Regions from separate parts of the Homo sapiens genome. Here region 2 is linked to region 1. The links are contacts of gene promoters, found by promoter capture Hi-C in blood cells and fetal thymus (Javierre and others, 2016). All regions are on one chromosome and are shown on one strand. The core of a region is centred on a gene start or on the middle of the fragment in contact, and the rest is flanking DNA. Distances in the headings are between cores, read along the strand shown. Region 1 holds the start of ABHD17C (abhydrolase domain containing 17C, depalmitoylase). Region 2 overlaps ARNT2 (aryl hydrocarbon receptor nuclear translocator 2).

Evidence for each region. Contacts are between HindIII fragments. The CHiCAGO score rates a contact against its expected background, and 5 or more counts as called.
Region 2: a contact is called between a fragment that was not itself captured here and the fragment with the promoter of ABHD17C in region 1, in 1 of 17 cell types (M0 macrophages). The highest score is 5.4, in M0 macrophages.

Annotation. Positions count from the first base shown.
Region 1 is chr15:80,690,951-80,696,829 of GRCh38, forward strand. ABHD17C (abhydrolase domain containing 17C, depalmitoylase) reads left to right here and starts at 4,360. Exons shown (of 3, transcript NM_021214.2): 1 at 4,360-5,069. The coding sequence starts at 4,480. RefSeq lists silencers at 3,078-3,372, 3,834-3,993, 4,014-4,123, 4,144-4,563, 4,654-4,703 and 1 more and an enhancer at 4,894-4,963. The HindIII fragment of the contact is 4,321 bases long and covers 2,585-5,879 here.
Region 2 is chr15:80,446,536-80,452,217 of GRCh38, forward strand. ARNT2 (aryl hydrocarbon receptor nuclear translocator 2) reads left to right here. Exons shown (of 19, transcript NM_014862.4): 2 at 4,345-4,459. Among named protein-coding and RNA genes, the nearest start is that of ARNT2, 45 kb to the left of the region's middle. The HindIII fragment of the contact is 2,904 bases long and covers 175-3,078 here.

The DNA of each region.
Region 1 (5,879 bases), core at 3,110-5,609:
GCTTGGTATTTTGGAAGCATTCACTAAATCACTCATTCATTCTTTTATTTTATTATTATTTTTGAGACAGGGTCTTGATCTATCACCAAGGCTGAAGTACAGTGGCATGATGACACCTCTTTACAGCCTCGACCTCCTGGGCTCAAGTGATCCTCCCATCTCAGCCTCTGGAGTAGCTAAGACTACAGGAGTGCACCACCACACCTGGCTAATTTCTTTTTGTATTTTTTATAGAGATGGGGTTTTGCCACGTTGCCCAGGCTGGTCTCAAACTCCTGAACTCGAGCAATCTGCTTGCCTCAGCCTCCCGAAGTGCTGGGATTACAGGTGGGAACCCCTGCACCTGGCCTCTCATTCTTTAATTTAGCAATTTAATTAACATTTACTGAGCATCTTCTCTATGCCAGTCATAGGGGAAACGATGAACAAAATACACATGATCCCTGATTTCACTGAGTATCCAGTCCCAAATTTTTAAAAAAATGTACAATGGGGCAACATTACCTTAGATTCCATCAAGACAACCAGATTCTGTTTTTAAGCATGAGTATCCTCTTATGGTCAAAAGTTGGTTCTACTTTTACAAATAAAAGTGGTCTTGAGCAACTCCACATCCAGCTGACTAGTGTGGAAGCCAAAATTCAGTGTGTAAAGGGCCAATATTAAGTAATAGAGATCAGGGTATTTAGTTATGTGGAATATTGTTTAGTTCATCAATACTGGCTGGCTTGGCAGGATACAGAGTTACCTAAGAGACAGATCATACAATGCACTTGTTGAGGGCAGGAGGAGCTGTGCATTAGCCACCTTTACATTCCCAAGTCAACTCAGTGACTGACTCATGATAAGTACCTAGCAGAGTAAATATGTTTGCTGACCTGAACTCAAAGTTAGATCTTTCTCTACTAGGATGATCAGAATGACATAGAAATTTAAGGCAGAGGTCCCCAAACCCCGGGCCGTGGACCTGTACTGGTCAGTGGCCTGTTAGGAACTGGGCCACATAGCAGGACGTGGGTAGCTGGTGGGTGAGCATTACTGCCTGAGTTCCGCCTCCTGTCAAATCAGCGGCAGCATTCGCTTCTCATAGGAGTGCAAACCCTATTGTGAACAGTGCATACGAGGGATCTAGATTGCGCACTCCTTATGAGAATCTAACTAGGATTTTCATGGAAAAAAATTGCCTTCCATGAAACCAGTCCCTGGTGCCACAATGGTTGGAGACTGCTGCTTTAAGGTCAAAGTGGACAGCTGGTAATCCCCAATTTTCACATTTTATAGGGCAAATGCATTCTTTATGTGCTGTATGTTAAAGTTTCCAAACCAACATGACAAGGCACACTAACACATTTGTTGTTAAAGATGTTAGATGTTAGAGACGTGCTGAGATCTTTAACCTCTTATCCCCTGGGCAGCACGTCTCATGTCAGTGGGCTACAGAAACTCTACCACTGGCTATATGTGGCATGAGATAAGAAAGGCTTGGTAGCTTCACTCTACGGCATATAATTTTAGGGTCTCAACTGAATATTTACACAAACCTGAACCAACATGTTTTCCTGGGGAATAAATGCTCTTTCAGCCCACCTCTGTGTAGCCTTGTAATAGAATGAAAACAAAAGCCAGGCTTTTATTTATTTGCTTATGTATTTATATTATACTGAATCACACTCCACAAATCCCTTGTGGAATGAGACCAGGTATAAATAAACAAGTATCTAGCTTTTAGATTTTTCTAACAATGCTAACACTGCTGCCAGGCCATCTGAAATATAAAGACTGTCTTTTCCATCAGCAGCACAGAAGACGAGTACTTGAGACTCTCATCATTCCCCCCTTTCATGAACTAAGGGCTATTCAATTCTTATAAAGGACAGGTGAGAGGAGTGGTATCTGAGAAAGACTGACTAGGGGGCTGTTAGATACCCTTTCATCTCAGTTCCCAAAGTTTGATTCTTGTTCTGAATTAGATTAGGGACTAATGCACTCGACTATAACCTTAGCTCCCCATAGAAATATCACCACTGAATCAGGACGCAAGACCATCTTCTTAGCTTTTATGAGGACTTGATTTTTTTTAAAGGCACATAAAAACTGTTTTGAATCTTCTGCTGATGCCCTAATTAGACTGTAAGGTATCTGAGAGCAGGGACTATCTTACTCACCTTGGTAGCTGTAGCACCTAACACAGTGGATGCTGTGAGCACAAAAAACATTACATACATAAATGCTGAATACAATAAAGTGACCAAAGTATACCAATGTGTAGCAAGTTAGAAAGCCTTTTTATTTTTTTGAGACATAGTCTCACTCTGTCACCCAGGCTGGAGTGCAGTGGCATGATCTCGGCTCACCGTAACCTCTGCCTCCTAGCTTCAAGTGATTCTCGTGCCTCAGCCTCCTGAGTAGCCGGGATTGTAGGTGCACGCCACCATGGCCGGCTAATTTTTGTATTTTCAGTAGAGACGGAGTTTCATTATGTTGGCCAGGCTGGTCTTGAACTTCTGACTTGAAGTGATCCACCCTCCTCAGCCTCCCAAAGTGGTGGGATTACAGGCGTGAGTCACTGTGCCCAGCTGTATAAAGCTTTTTTTTCTTTTTAAAGGATTTTCGCAGAAAAATTCTTTTTTTAAAAAAAAAAAAAAAAAAAAGGAAATGCAAACCTGCAAAGCTAGAATTGGGCTTTATGTGAAGAGTTTCACCAAGTGTGAAAACCTTCAAAACAGACTTCAAATATGCAATCTGGACAGGCTTTGTTACCAGGTTTTTAAAAATCAAGTTTGAATAGTTCAAAAACAAGTAAAATTGTTTTAGTGAAGAAATGGCCTTTTAAAACCCAGGTCCTAGCTGGGCAAGGTGGCATGTGCCGGTAGTCCTAGCTACTTGGGAGGCAGGCCGGAGGGTCATTTGAGCCCAGGAGTTGGGAGTCCAGCCTGGACAATACAGTAAGACCCTGTCTCTTAAAAAAGAAAAAATTAAAAGCGAGGTCCTGAAGGTTAATGAAATCAGTATCGGCAATTCATTTAGATGACGGTGCTCAAAATATTCGTCCTGTGGAAAGTCACAACGAAAGGTAAAATTCTCAGGACATCTGTGAGTTAAAACAACAGACCCAGCGTAGGGATTGTGCCAACCTCCCAGTCTCTAGCTGCCCTGCTGGCAGTCCAGGAAGGGTATCTCCTGTCAGTTCCTGAAAGGGAATTCTTCAGCTGCCAAATCAGGCGGGAAAAAGGAAGTATAGAAGGCTCTGTGGAAACTGGCACCAGAGCACAGTTTCAAGGCACCGAGAGTTATATTTGAAAAATCATGTAAAGGTGGCTGCCAAGATTACAGTAGATTTAAAGCAGTATAAGAATCGTTCATGACTAAGACCACTGAAAAATCCTGGACCCAAAACAACTCTAGAGACACAAACACTGTAAACGATACCTAGTATATACTTACTACCGGAAAATCTGCCACACGTGGGATTAGAAATGACAACCTCAACATGGTTTGTTGCTAAATACAGTACCCTCCTGTTCTAACAGCTGACTTTTATAGATACAGAAATGTACTAAGGGTAAAACCATGCCCTTAGAAAGGAAACGCTGTTGCTACCTATACAGAAACAGCCTCTCCTAATAAGAAACACACTGATGACCACCCTATCCCACAACCCCGGTACCCCTTACGGTGCTGAGAACTTTTGGTACTGAGCCAGTTCAGAAAGCAGCACACACGAGAGCCAAATATTTCGGGCACATTCCAACTCTTGTCCACCCCTTAGTTTCCTTTTCAGTAGACTCCCAAGAACCTCCATCCACGGGAGAAACCTGGATTTGGGGGAGGGAATCCCAGGGGGAGGGGAGGGGAGCGGTCCACCCCGGGACACATGCACCCCCTCCAGGGTCCCCTCTGCAGATCGGCCCAGCTGTCCGGGCGCAGAGCCCCCAGCCCCGGCACCCAGCTTCTCCGGGCCCCGGAGCCGCCTGGAAGCCCCCGTCGGCCGCAGGTCGAGAAGGTGCTTCCCAGGCCGGGGAAGGTGCCCGCGCCCTTGCCCGCAGCGCCCCGCCCCGATGCCCGGCTCTGCGCCGCGTCCCAGCGGCGGCGCCGCCGCGCGGTAACCCGGAAGTGGCGGCGGCGGCGGCGGCGGCGGCGGGCGTGCGGGAGCGGGAACGGGAGCGGGGGGCGGCGCGCACGAGCCGGCCATGGACGCCGCCGCCGGCTTTGTGTGCCGCGCGCGGGCCCGGGCCGCCCGCGCCTCGCCTGGGTTCCGGGGCCGCCGCTGACCCGCCCGGGCTCCGAGCGCCGCGCCCGCCGGGCCGGCCCCGCCTCCTGCCCTCCTCCGCCTCCGCCTCCTCCTGCCGCCGGGCGGGCGGGCTGCAGCCGCCCTCCGCGCTCGCCTGCCAGCTCCCTCGCCGCGCGTCCGTCCTCCGTCCTCCCGGGCCAGCCAGCCAGCCAGCCAGCCGGGCCGGCGGCGGGCACCAGGCCGTCCCGATGCCCGAGCCAGGCCCCAGGATGAACGGCTTCTCGCTGGGTGAGCTGTGCTGGCTCTTCTGCTGCCCGCCCTGCCCGAGCCGCATCGCCGCCAAGCTGGCCTTCCTGCCGCCCGAGCCCACCTACACGGTGCTGGCGCCGGAGCAGCGCGGCGCCGGCGCGTCCGCCCCGGCCCCGGCCCAGGCTACCGCCGCCGCCGCCGCGGCCCAGCCGGCACCGCAGCAGCCCGAGGAGGGCGCGGGCGCGGGGCCCGGTGCGTGCAGCCTGCACCTCAGCGAGCGCGCCGACTGGCAGTACTCGCAGCGCGAGCTGGACGCCGTCGAGGTCTTCTTCTCGCGCACGGCCCGGGACAACCGGCTCGGCTGCATGTTCGTGCGCTGCGCGCCCTCCAGCCGCTACACGCTGCTCTTCTCGCACGGCAACGCCGTGGACCTGGGCCAGATGTGCAGCTTCTACATTGGCCTCGGCTCCCGCATCAACTGCAACATCTTCTCCTACGACTACTCGGGATACGGCGTCAGCTCGGGCAAGCCCTCCGAGAAGAACCTCTACGCCGACATCGACGCCGCGTGGCAGGCGCTGCGCACCCGGTGAGCCTGCCGGGGTCGCCAGGCCTGACTTCCAGCTGTGGGGAGGCGGGGTGGGGGTCTCTTGGGGCCCCTGGGGCGGCCTGCCAGGAGAGGGGCCCCTCCTCCGGGGCTGAGGGCCAGCGGAGAGCCCCTTGGCCGCCGTAAATTCGCTTTTCTTGTCCCACCCTGGCTTGCTCCCACCCTCTCCAAAAACCGCGCCAGCCTTCAGGTTCCTGGAGAGCTCGGACTCAGAGAATTTTGCCTGCTTTGGCTCGCCTGTGTGTCGCCGGCCCACCGGCTGGGTCTTTTGTGGCTCCGGTCACCGCGAGTGGCAGAGTGTGGGTGCTTAAGTACCGGGCAGAAAGAAACAACTTGGTTCGAGTTTCGTTTGTACGAGCTGAAGTGACCTTGGGCAAGGCACATGGGTTTCTAGACTCAGTTTCCTTCCCTGTAAAGTCAGTGGGCGAGACAGGATGGCCTCTAAAAGACTTTCTGGTTGTAAAGTGCGGGCAGGACAATGTCTGGGCAACCTTGGAAACAGCTGGAGCGTCAGGTGGAGCGGGGAGTTTGCCTCCTGGTGGGGCAAAGTAGTGGCACTGTGGGGCAGGAAGTTAGCTGGTAGCTGTGGGCCTGGCACCTTCCACACGGCCTCCATAACAGTCCAGGATAAGTTTGAAACTTGCAGGGGCTGGGAAATCTCTGACCTTAAATTAGCATTCACAGAAGGACTGAAAAGTGTTTAGGGTGGGCCATCTGTGAGCCAGGCACAAACTGGGGGCATGGTTTAGGGGTTAGACCTGGTTGTTTTATAACAAGCAAACCAAAAACCTG
Region 2 (5,682 bases), core at 377-2,876, 250 kb before region 1:
CCTCCGCCTGGGCACCACAAGGGACAGGGACCCCACAGTGGGTGGCCAAACACGTAAGAGCCTGCTCTGCCCTTCACTAGCCATGTTACAGGGTACAGGGCTGACCGGTCCCTGCCGAGTTTCCTAATCTGTAAAATGGGATGAATTTCCATTTACTTTATAGGGTGGATGTAAAGCTTGTGCAAAGAAGATGGCAGAGTGCTGGAAACACAGTCAGTACCCAACATAAATCTTAGTTTAGGTAAAATTTTATCATTGTTCTTAAGCCAATCCGTCCCATTATTGGACACTTACTATTTAAAAAGGGCTTCCCCTTCCTCTGTCTCTGTCTCATTCATTCATTGCTTCCAGTTCTCACCAGTTATATATACTTTCTCCTGTGTCTTCCACATGAAACCCTTTAAAAAGTATTATTCTATTTGTGATCACTCAATTGACATATCATTAAATTAACACATGCATTGGGAGAAAATTAGAATATTCAAAAAAACAAGAAGAGCTTTTAGGATAAAATAAAACCCACCTATAATTCTCACAACAGGAATAGCCAAGTTTAACATATTAGTGTGTTTCTATCTGCCTTCTAGTCTTTTTTCTGTGCATATAACACACACACACACACACACACCCTTCCTCTCATCTCCCATCACAGCAAGGGAGAAGCTATGTCTGTGTTAGGTCCAGGACAGTGGGGAGTGTGTTTGCTGTGTGTCAGGGGTGTACATGTGCATGAATATTCTAATGTCTGTTGACACAGACTGCTGAGCTCTCCTCTGGAAAGGCTCTACTCATGAATACCCACAGCTGCAGGGTATGGTGGTGGCTGCACAGCCACCCTGGAGGTATCCAAAGTGTGATTTCCTCCCTATACAGTGCAGTGTTCAGTTCTCTTGGTGAGTGAAATTCAGAAACCCTGGAGCACATCATCAACTGGCTTGCAGGGCTGCTCTTCATCTGAAGGTTTAGCCAACTTTGCTCTATTGATACCAGGCCTTGTCTTTGGGACTGTCACCTCCAACCTGAACAGGGACCTTCCTAAGCCACCTTCTTTGGATGGACATCCCAAGAACTTTGCTTGCTTCGACTTGAGTCACAGAGAAAAGATGCCAGATTTGGGAAGCGGGTGCCAGACTTTTCCAGGGAAGGCTGACAGCTGATCACATTATAGATACGGACATAGATTGCAGAGGAGAGAGACTTGTTTTTTCACTTTTGTTTGAATTTATTAAGGGTGGCTCCTAAAAATCAATATTAGAGAAAATATTTTATCTTTAAAGTCAATGTTAGTCTCATCGATTGCATTTTCTGTTTGGCTTATTTAGTATCCAGAACACTTAATTACAAAAAATAGCATTTGATAAAATGAGGCATCCATTCCTTAAATAAACTTTTTAAAGTAGACATAGGAGCAGATTCCTTGACAACAGAAACAGTGTCTGTCTTAAACCAGCAGCTCATTCCAGTTAAATGCAAGGCTCAAGCAAGATTGCTTACCATCAGCATAATCATGATCATTTTAATTATTGTTGCTTGAGTGTTTTTTTTTCCCAAGCACTATGTTAGGCTCATCACATACCTTGTCCTTAATTTTTAAAATGCCCCTTCAAGGTACATATTATGAACATTTCACAGCTGACACTTTGACCTAGAGTAGCCCCGTCACTCATAGCTGGGAGGTGTTTGAGTTGTGATTTGAAACCAGATATATCTGACTGCAAGGTAGTGACTTTCTTTTACCTCATGATAGGTCATTTTTACTCAATATTGCTCTGAAAGTTCTGGCCAATGAAATAGGACGTGAAAATAAGAAACTAGACATGAAATCAGACAAGAAAAAGAAAGATCACTTGTGGGCACCCACGCAGGTCATCTAATCTCTCTTTGCCTTGCTCCCTTCATCTGTTGGAGGAAAGAAAGGACTTGGTTTTCAGTGTTCCTCATCCTTTGCCCCACCAGCCAAGGTTTTGGGGAGCTTTACTTTTTTCAACTTATATTGCCAAAACTATCGGCATTTTTGTTTTACCCAAATTAAATTCAGGTGATTGGAACGGGGAAGGGATGACAACATTTCTAGGATTACCAACAATGGCTAAGATCTCTTCCAGCCTGAAATTTCCTCAACTCGAAGGCAGGAATGAGGTAATGGCTTTAAAATACCAAAACTTGGGCCTGGCGCGGTGGCTAACGCCTGTAATCCCAGCACTTTGGGAGGCCGAGGTGGGCAGATCATGAGGTCAGGAGATGGAGACCATCCTGGCTAACACGGTGAAACCCCATCTCTACTAAAAATACAAAAAAAATTAGCCGGGCATGGTGGCGGGCGCCTGTAGTCCCAGCTACTCGGGAGGCTGAGGCAGGAGAATGGCGTGAACCCGGGAGGTGGAGCTTGCAGTGAGCCAAGATCACGCCACTGCTCTCCAGCCTGGGTGACAGAGTGAGACTCCGTCTCAAAAAAAACAAAACAAAACAAAACAAAACAAAAAACCAAAACTTGTGCTGCTTAGAACATTAGCTGAGCAGGTGATCCATTTTTAAAGTTTCCACAATTAGAGATATTTATGATATACTGGGATAACCGAAGTTAAGCAATCCTCTTTATATAGGTAGGACTTGTCAATATGTTTTTAGTGGATGTTGGAATCTCCAAGAAAGGGGGTAAGTGCACAGCTTTTTTCTTAACTTATTTGACCATGGAACTCTGTTTCTTGGAGAATCTTAAGGGGCTGCTGTTCTGTGGAACTTATTTTAGAAAGTAGTGACTTTCATTGTCATCTGTCTTTGCTGTAACAGTGATTCTGCCCTTCAGTTTGGGGACATAATGGACTCAATGTGTTTTAGCCTCCATTTCAGAAAAATATAAATATTTTATCAAAGCAGGCAGATGATAAAGTTGTTGGGTTATTGCTTTTAATACTGTCTAGCTGTCACAAACTCAGTTGTCTAAAGGGGAGAGAATTACTTTAAGAGGAGGATTTTTTTTTTCTTTGAGGACTTTTTGATGTGTACCTTGGTTTAAAAAACAAAACAAAAGTGTAATCATTCCCCAAGTTTTGTGGACATAGCAAGATGACTAAATTAAGCTTTTGTTTATTGTGAAATTGTATTGTGTATTGTAAAATTCTTCTTCAAGAGTTTTGAGTGGGATAGTTCAAGTTGAGCTTCAAATGTGTTTATTAAACATACAGTGTTTTGGGGCGTAACTGTGGGTCAACTGTCACAGGACTCCCTGAGTTCTACTGAAAGGAAACAGAGCAGTAGCCTACACCAACCATGCACTGTCAACATCACCAGGCATCTCTCTCCACTAAGAAGGGCCCAGATTCCTTATGTATCCTGACCCATCTTTTATATATATTTTTGTAGATTGCTGCTTCCCTTCTTCCCCTGGGTAAAAGTTGAGCTAAGAAAAGCTAACACTGTGGAAGTCGTTCCCAACCACGGTAAACAGAATCACAGAGGCCACTTGAAACATTTGTCGAGTCATGGAATGGTCTGGGAAAGGGTGCCTGAGCTTAGGAGCTCTCCGTTAAGTAGGAAAGAGAGACTGCTTAGTGTGGTTTCTTTGAAATCAGGGATGCTTAACATGACCTTAACGAGCTTCCAAAATTATCTGGCTTATAAGAAATAATGTCTTGGCCACAATGTGCAGGAAAGGTACTCTTATTTAGTAATAGACCTTCTTATTCTTTAAATTAATATTTATTCCTGAAAAGGTCCAGCTCTGGAGATCCAGGAAGCCTCAGCCTGGCCTGCTATAGCCTGAAGTGATGCTTTTAACACCCTAGAGCTCACTGTCTTCGTCAATAACAGAGGGGCCAAGCAGGGCTCAGATACTCAGGGCTTCTGAGTCCAGAGTAGGCGTGGCAACCAGCCTTTCTGCTTGAACACGAACCTAGGGCAACGGAGGGGCAGTGGCGGGCACTGCAGCAGGGCGTTGCCTCTCAGGGCGTGTGCCCCATCTGGGTTACCAGGAGTTGGTTCTTTCCCTCAGGCCTTAGCTGTGCTGCTCGGATTCCTCTGCATCTTACCTGCCTCCAGGTGGTCAGGAGACAGGAGTCCCTTATGAAAGCTGCTAAGCTCTTTTAATTCTGTTTAATTCTGTGGTTAAACTGTTTAACCACTGTTCCAATCAGTAAATATGAGAGTACTGCCAGAGATACCCTTTTCCAGAGAAAGAGGAAAGACTTGCCCCAGCCACATAGCTGATGATGGCAGAGCGGCCGCAGGATGCAGGTCCCTGGGCTCTCTGCGCAGGTGGTGCTTCTGGTACCGTATCACAACTTTCTTGCCCGTTACTGGGCTTTTCTGGCATTGACAAAACCTCTTGTCTTTGCTGAATTCCAGAAATGGCTTCAGACATACCTGGATCTGTGACGTTGCCCGTTGCCCCCATGGCGGCCACCGGACAGGTGAGGATGGCGGGGGCCATGCCTGCCCGTGGAGGAAAGCGGCGTTCCGGGTAAGCGACCTCAGCGTTTCCAGGAATTGGCTTAATAAATGTTGAGCAATGCTCTTGACCTGTTAGGAAAATATTGTTTCTCCCCTTCCTGTAGAATAAAAGCTCAGCAGTTTGCATCCTGTTTAACTTTTACAAGATTCCTAAATATGCACATGATTTGCTTCTAAGTGTTTTGGGCCTCGGCACCCAGCTGGGGACTTCTGTTTGCTTGTCCTTGTGGTGAGAATGTGCTTTGTGATCCTGCTGGGCCTGGCTCAGGCCATCTGAAGGGAGAGGGCTCACCCGTTATCCTGCCTGAGCCTCCAAGCCAGATTTGGCAGCACTGCTGCGCTGAGCTCCAGCCCCTGTGGGCTGCAAAGATTCCACCCTGGTGCTGTCCATTCTTTCCTCCTTCAGAGATGGTGTGCAGGAATTCCTTTCAAAATAATTGGCTAAATCTCAGTGCTTGAAGACCAGACAGTTGGCATTGTCTGCTGCTCTGCTGGTGAAGGTGGTAATAATACTAAGTACTATTGTTCCAAGTGTACTTGTTCTGATAGGGCCAGAAATGTCATCACTCTTGAGCAGATGGAACCAAAACTGCACCTATTCATGATCCATAATGTTTGTGGCTGTACACAGACCTGAAAAACCAACCAACCAACCAACTAACCAACCAACCAACCAACCAACTACCCACCAACCATCCAACCAACCAACCAATCAACCAACTAACCAACCAATCAACCAACCAACCAACCAACCAATCAACCAACCAACCAACTACCCCCCAACCATCCAACCAACCAAAATCCTGCAGGAAAAACATGATGGACATTTTCAGACTCAAGATATCACCTAGCCCCTTTCTCCTGTTGAATCTATTTTATTTTCGATGCACTATTTGATAAACAAGGTTTCTCATGAAGTTGAATCAATTTGTACTTTTAAAGCAATTTCTGATAACACACAGCTCCTTGGGAATGCAACTGTCTGGTTACAGCAGAACCCACTTCTCACAGCCCAAGGCCTGCAGGGTGTGCCCGTTTTTAGGTGGTCCAATATGATTCTTAAAGGGGGCATAAGTGGAGGCAATGGGAAGTATCAGGATCTGGGATGGAGTGTGGCTAGAATGCAAAAGCATATTCAGCCTTGTAATTTTAGGTTGGAAAAAAGACTGTTATGTGTGTTGTATAGTCTCTAAAGGAGGGCCTGAGATTTTTATGATGAGGGAGAGGGTTAAA